2 separate regions of the Homo sapiens genome follow, and region 2 is linked to region 1. Evidence: promoter capture Hi-C in 16 types of primary human blood cells and fetal thymus (Javierre and others, 2016). All regions are on one chromosome and are shown on one strand. The core of a region is centred on a gene start or on the middle of the fragment in contact, and the rest is flanking DNA. Distances in the headings are between cores, read along the strand shown.

Region 1 (3,133 bases), core at 312-2,811:
AAGCAATATGCCAGTATGCCAAATAAAAAGAGGTACAATCTTCTCACAAGAATGAGGATAGGGTCCATACCTATGACTAATAATAACAATACAACCTTGCTTTTGCAGAGCATTAGGTCTTTTCATAGATCTTTCAGGCACTCGATTTTGATGCTGTCATTGGCCTTAGGAGTATCCTCTCCGAAGAGCTCCAGTTCAGTTTCCTCTTAAGAGTTATGATCAGAACAAGGCAGGCGATGTGTTTATTGAGGGTTGAAGGTACTATTGTAGTTTCTCCTATCAAGCTGTTTGCAGTGATCCTCCAATAATCACACTATACAACTCAGCCCCAGCAAATAAAACCTACATTCTTTCCCTCAGAGCTGGCCAGAGACCAACACATATAGGTCTAGAAAGTCCAAGGGAAGGAAACCTCCTGACTTGTTAGGTTAAGAACTCCATGCCAAATTCATCTCTTGCAATTGAAAAAAGAAATCTCTCTCACACTCTGTCTCTCTCTCTCTCACACACACACACACACACACACACACTCACCCAAGAGTGTTCAAACAGAAATCCTCTTTTTCTGCCAGCCAATGAAACCCAGCAACAACTGGTTAATACAACCACCAAATCTCTGCCTCTGTCAACAACTTACCATATTCGCTTCTCCTGTGCCTGCTGACCACCCTTCCCGCTTCAGGCACGCGTGAACACGCTTATACAGTAGCCCTCGAAAGGACCCCCAAAAGCACCTTTAAGGACCCAAGAGGATGAAGCTTGCCTCCTGAAGCAATGCAGCATCCATCTCGAGGGAGCCGGTTCCCCATGCACACACACAGAGGAAGTCACAGAGGGGAATAAAGTTTGATTTTCCTTCCTGCCCGACCCCTCGGGGACGAGAGAGGACGAGGGGCGGCCCCGCCGGGGTCCTGGGCTGCTCTCCGGGGCAGCTCCCAGCAGCATGGCACTGCCACTCTCCTGGCACACACAAGGCGGCCGCGGCAACTCAGAACTCCCCAACCCGCCCGGAGGAGGAGGGAAAGGGGACAACTTCCATCTGGCTCCGTTCAGGGAGCCTTGGGGCAGGGCTGTTAAGAACGAAGAAGGGAGGGAACGCGATTGGGGGCGAGTCGGGGAGAGGTTCAAGTCCCGTGCCTTCCCCGCCCTGGTGTCCCCAGTCCTGCGGGAACATCCCCGCCGTCGCCCCTCCTCCTCCTCTCGGCTTCCTCCCGCCCGCCCTCCCTTCCTGGTCGCCGCCGCAGGCGCCTGAAGGGCACGGCGGCTCCTCGGTGCCCGGCAACCTCCGGAGCGGCCGGGAGTTGAGGTAACTCGCCTGCTGCCCCGGCGGCCTGCCCGCCGGCGGCTCCCACACGCCAGCGCCGCCCCGCCCTCCCCGGAGCCTCCGGGCGCGCTCGCTCACCGTCCGGTGGTGCTGCTGCTGCCGGTGGCGGCTGACGCCCAGCCCAGGGAAGCAGCCGGCAGTCAGCGCCCCGCAGCCGCCGGCGCCCCCGCCGCCGCCGCCCCGAGAGGAGAGGAGCAGCAGGAGCGATCTACCTGCGGCGGCCGCCATCTCTCAACTGGAAACGGCGCCGACCCAGGCAGCGCAGCGGACGGCCAGGGCGGAGCTAAGACCCGCCACTCACCGACGCCGGGCCAACTAAAGCCCTTGACTGAGTTGATGAGGCGGGGCTTCCTGCAAGGTCCAATCGACAGGCGGGAGAACCACACTGGAAGCTGCCAGTCCCTTCCAGAGTTACCTATAGTGGGACATAGTCAATTACGGGCAAATTCTAGGGAACCCATAATTGACACCCAAACCCGTGAAAATAACAGCAATAGAGATGGCATGTTCAGTTCGGCTAATCTTCACCAACAATAGAGCTATGATAAGAGTAACGGGGGATATAGATATTTGTGAAAAGCTTTGTTCGAAGTTGAGTTCTAAGTGAGTGTTCTAAGTTGGCAAAATAGGCACCAAATTAATAACCATTAACGGTGTATGCTGTAACTCTCAACTACACGCCTAGAATTATCATTCATAACTGATAATATTTAGATATGCTGAAATTAACTCTACATCACGGAGTGATCTAATGACTGTGATGCGTAGCATAATATAGGAGAGGTAGAACGATTACAATATCAAAGTCCCAGAATGAGTACATGCCTTCAGAGTGAATTAACTGACGTGTATACATCTCAAATACCCAATTCATTTTTACAGCACCTTTATACGGATATTCTCACACTCTCCAGAAACAGCACTATTTTATCATATTTGACTTTGTGTGCATTTACAGAAACAGAACACATTAATAACGTAATAAAAAATCATGTAAGGCCGGGCGCGGTGGCTCACGCCTGTAATCCCAGCACTTTGGGAGGCAGAGGCGGGCGGATCACGAGGTCAGGAGATCGAGACCATCCTGGCTAACACGGTGAAACCCCATCTGTACTAAAAATACAAAAAATTAGCCAGGCGTGGTGGCGGGCGCTTATAGTCCCAGCTATTCCGGAGGCTGAGGCAGGAGAATGGTGTGAACCCGGGAGACGGAGCTTGCAGTGAACCGAGATCGGGCCATTGCACTCCAGCCTGGGCGACACAGCAAGACTCCATCTCAAAAAAAAAAAAAAAAATTCATGTAAAAGGCTATTTTAATGATGCTTCATAATTTTGCCGAAATAGTTATCAGAATACGCTTTGGAATAACAAACACTTTCTCTTGAAAAACACTTCTTTCCACTTAAACTCACAATGAGGGCTCCTTGAATACTGCCTAAGAAAGATTTTGGGTCCTGAATTTCCTTAGAAGAGTATTTCCTTGCTAGCTGTTTATTATTATGAGCTGATTAAATTCTCACACCTCTTTTTAAAATCTGGAGCAGGAAAATAGTTTGGGAAGCAAATACAAGCATTATTTTAAATTTTGGAAAACATCTTTGTAGTGTAGCCTTAGATGATAAATTTAAAACAAAAACAAAACACACACATAAATACGAAGAAAATGTTATCACTTATTCTAAGAATATTCTTTAAAGTTTGACTGAAATGGTACCTTCTTGGCCAAGAATAGCTAAAAAATGACGTGGAAGTTTTTTGTTTGTTTAATCCTTATGCCCCACCTACACCAAAACAGTGAGATGATTGGCT
Region 2 (3,133 bases), core at 371-2,870, 120 kb before region 1:
GTCTGCAATCCCAGCTACTCGGGAGGCTGAGACAGGAGAATTGCTTGAATCGGGCAGTGGAGGCTGCAGTGAGCCGAGATCACACCACTGCACTCTAGCCTGGGCAGTAGGGCAAGATTCCCTCTCAAAAAGAAAAAAAACAAAAAGAAAAGAAACCTTGAAATTACAAATTAAAAGCATTTTACTCTCCATGTTAAAAAAAAAAAGCACTATAAACATCCAAAATGAATAGGTAAATAATATTATTTCCTAAAATACATTCAATATAGGAAACTGTTTTCAAGTGTATCTAGTACATAAATGACAAGGAACACAGGGTTGGCTGAATAAAATTTATTTTTTAACTAAACAAGAAGGAAGATACAGGGAAATGTTTCTGAATATATCTGTAATAAAGGAAAAGACAGCATTCAGAATTCTATGTATATGAAAATAATACTGAAAAAGCCAGTATGGTCTTTTGGTAAAATTCTTTTCAAAACATGTTATCTTGAGAAATTATCTTTTATCTTCAAAGATAAGTTAGTTAACATGAAATTTATTTTGCAAAAATTCAAAACATTATCATTACTTAGTCTCTTAATACAGAGATAGAAGAAAATCATTAAATGATAAGCTCAAAGACAACTTACACATTTTAATTAAGTGGGCCTTTTCAATCAAACTAAACTGAGTGAAAGATTCCTTTCCTCTTGCTCTGGAACTCTAATGTCATTGAAAGAAAAGCAAAGAGAGATTGAGTAGCTGCTTAGTTAAGAAAAGAAAATCCAATTGTAAGAATAATCTGAAGGGACCCCACAGGTCTTACAAAACAAGTCTTATTATTCAGATTAGTAGAGGACCAAGTCTATTGGTTATATTGGCCCTCTTCTCATTGAACAACTACAACAGACACAAAAAAATGTTTGTCATAAAAATGTCAACTCACTTCAACAAAAAACACACATGAACACATTAACAAGTTCGCAACAAATTCTATTTTGGCTCATTGCGTCTAGAATGCAACTATCCTTTAACATCAATAACCTTTTTCTCAAACAACAGCCACCACAACCGAACTGAAAAGGCAATCTAGACTTAAATCTTATCAACTATTTTATAGCCTATCTTTCCTACATTATAAATTACGCATTTTCGCCTTGAGAAATTGGCAGTAAAAGATTCATGTTTATTTTGGTTCAAAGGGTGACCCCAGTTGGTAAACTAATAAAGTATACACTGAATAGCTATTTCTAAAAGCATGTGCTGAGCAGGTTGGAGGTTTCTTACTGGATATAACCAATAGAAGTTACCAAGTCTTTTCAATATTCTCCAGGCCTATTGTCCTTTCTCTACTATCTCCATACTCAGTATAAGCCTTATTTTAACTATGTTCTCTGGCATTTTGGTTTCCTTGACCTCCTAGACCTACTGTGCCAATCCTTACTTTCTGGTAAATTTATTTCATCAACTCCTGCTGTGGGATAAAGCAAGGCCTATGAGAAAAAGGCAACACAGACCAGGCGCAGTGGCTCACACCTGTAATCCCAGCACTTTGGGAGGCTGAGGCAGGTAGATCACCTGAGGTCAGGAGTTCAAGACCAGCCTGGCCAACATAGTGAAACCCTGTCTCTACTAAAAATACAAAACAACAACAACAACAACAACAACAACAACCTAGCTGGGCGTGGTGGCAGGCGCCTGTAATCCCAGCTACTTGGGAGGCTGAGGCAGGAGAATCACTTCAACCCGGGAGGCAGAGGTTGCAGTGAGCCGAGATTGCACCACTGAACTCCAGCCTGGGCAACAAGAGCGAAACTCCGTCAAAAAAAAAAAAAAAAAAAAAAAAAGGCAACATAATTGTCTTAACTGATGTCACTACAAAATCATGTTACTCACTAAATGCTTTCACATATGTCAGTGGACTCTCAGACTTCTTCCCTACAGAAGTTGTTCAGAACTGTTTCCTGCCTCTCAGTCAAAGACGTCACCTCTTATTTTACTGAAACCAGTAAAATAGGAAATTTCTGAAATTCACCCTCACAATTCCTCTCTTCTCCAACACCAAGTTTCTCTCAATTTTCTTTTTTTCTCTTCTTTCACTCTAACACAGGGAAAGAAGTCTCCCCACTCCTTTGCAAGGTGAATACCTTTACTTCTTCAGTTAGTTCTTCTCTCTTGCATCTTTAATGTCTCCAACTTCAATAGCTCCTTTCTCCAACCTTAGACATGTCTAGTTCTACACTATGTCCACCCCCATACACATATGTTCACGCGCACACACATACAAACACACACACACATGCACACACAGAAGCCTGCCTTCACTAATCCTACTTCCCACTGATATTTTCTCATTTCTCATACTATTATGCCTTCTTGGAAACATTTGATACTGCTGACTACCTCCTCCCTCCTGAAATTCTTTTCTTTGAATTCTATGACACTCTAGGAGTTCCTGAATTTACTTCTTACTCTACTGTCTTTGACCACTTCTATGTCTCCTTTATTGCCTTCTTGCTCTTCCAGCTATCCCCAAAATACTCATCAAGGCTTATTCTTTGCCCTTGTTTTTTCATACTTATTCTGTTTGGAGAGCTCAACCTTTCTTAGAACTTCAAGTTATTATCTCAATGAAAATAATGTCTTGAGTCCTTTCTGTACTGATTTTCAGATTCAAATTTCTAGCTGCTTATTAGAATAGCTCTATCAAATATACCTCTAAGTCCCTGAAGTAAAATATGTTCCCAAACCTGCTCCACTCCAATGTTTCCGATTTCAATTAATTGTACGTCAAACTTTTTGGTCAGTCTCTCAGGCTTTAAGACCCATAGCCATTTTAGAGTCTTCACTTTGTACTCCCAGCCAATTCCAAGTCTCATCAAGTCTACCATCACCCTTTTTGCTTCTTTTTGTTCCTTCTTTTTTCTATGAATATTAATATAATTCAGTGGTTAAGAGCAGAGGCCCTAAAGTCACAAATGGATTTGAATCCCAGCTCTTCCATTTATTAGCTTTGTGGTTTGGAGCAAGTTCCACTGACTGCCTCAAGTCTTAGTTTCTGTTTAGATAAATCCAGATGTTGTGAGGTGACAAAGGGCTAATGCATATAAAGCATTAAGCACAGTGAGCACGTGCCTGGCACTCAAAACAG

The links. Contacts are between HindIII fragments. The CHiCAGO score rates a contact against its expected background, and 5 or more counts as called.
Region 2: a fragment that was not itself captured here is called in contact with the fragment with the promoter of MCU in region 1 in 2 of 17 cell types (endothelial precursors and megakaryocytes); the score reaches 5.7 in endothelial precursors.

Annotation. Positions count from the first base shown.
Region 1 is chr10:72,690,571-72,693,703 of GRCh38, reverse strand. It overlaps MCU (mitochondrial calcium uniporter), which reads right to left and starts at 1,561. Exons shown (of 8, transcript NM_138357.3): 1 at 1,403-1,561. The coding sequence starts at 1,552. RefSeq lists enhancers at 124-213, 1,884-1,943 and silencers at 974-1,063, 1,084-1,133, 1,224-1,683. The HindIII fragment of the contact is 1,146 bases long and covers 761-1,906 here.
Region 2 is chr10:72,809,158-72,812,290 of GRCh38, reverse strand. All of the region lies in intron 1 of MCU (mitochondrial calcium uniporter), which reads right to left. Among named protein-coding and RNA genes, the nearest start is that of OIT3, 83 kb to the left of the region's middle. The HindIII fragment of the contact is 4,167 bases long and covers 1-3,133 here.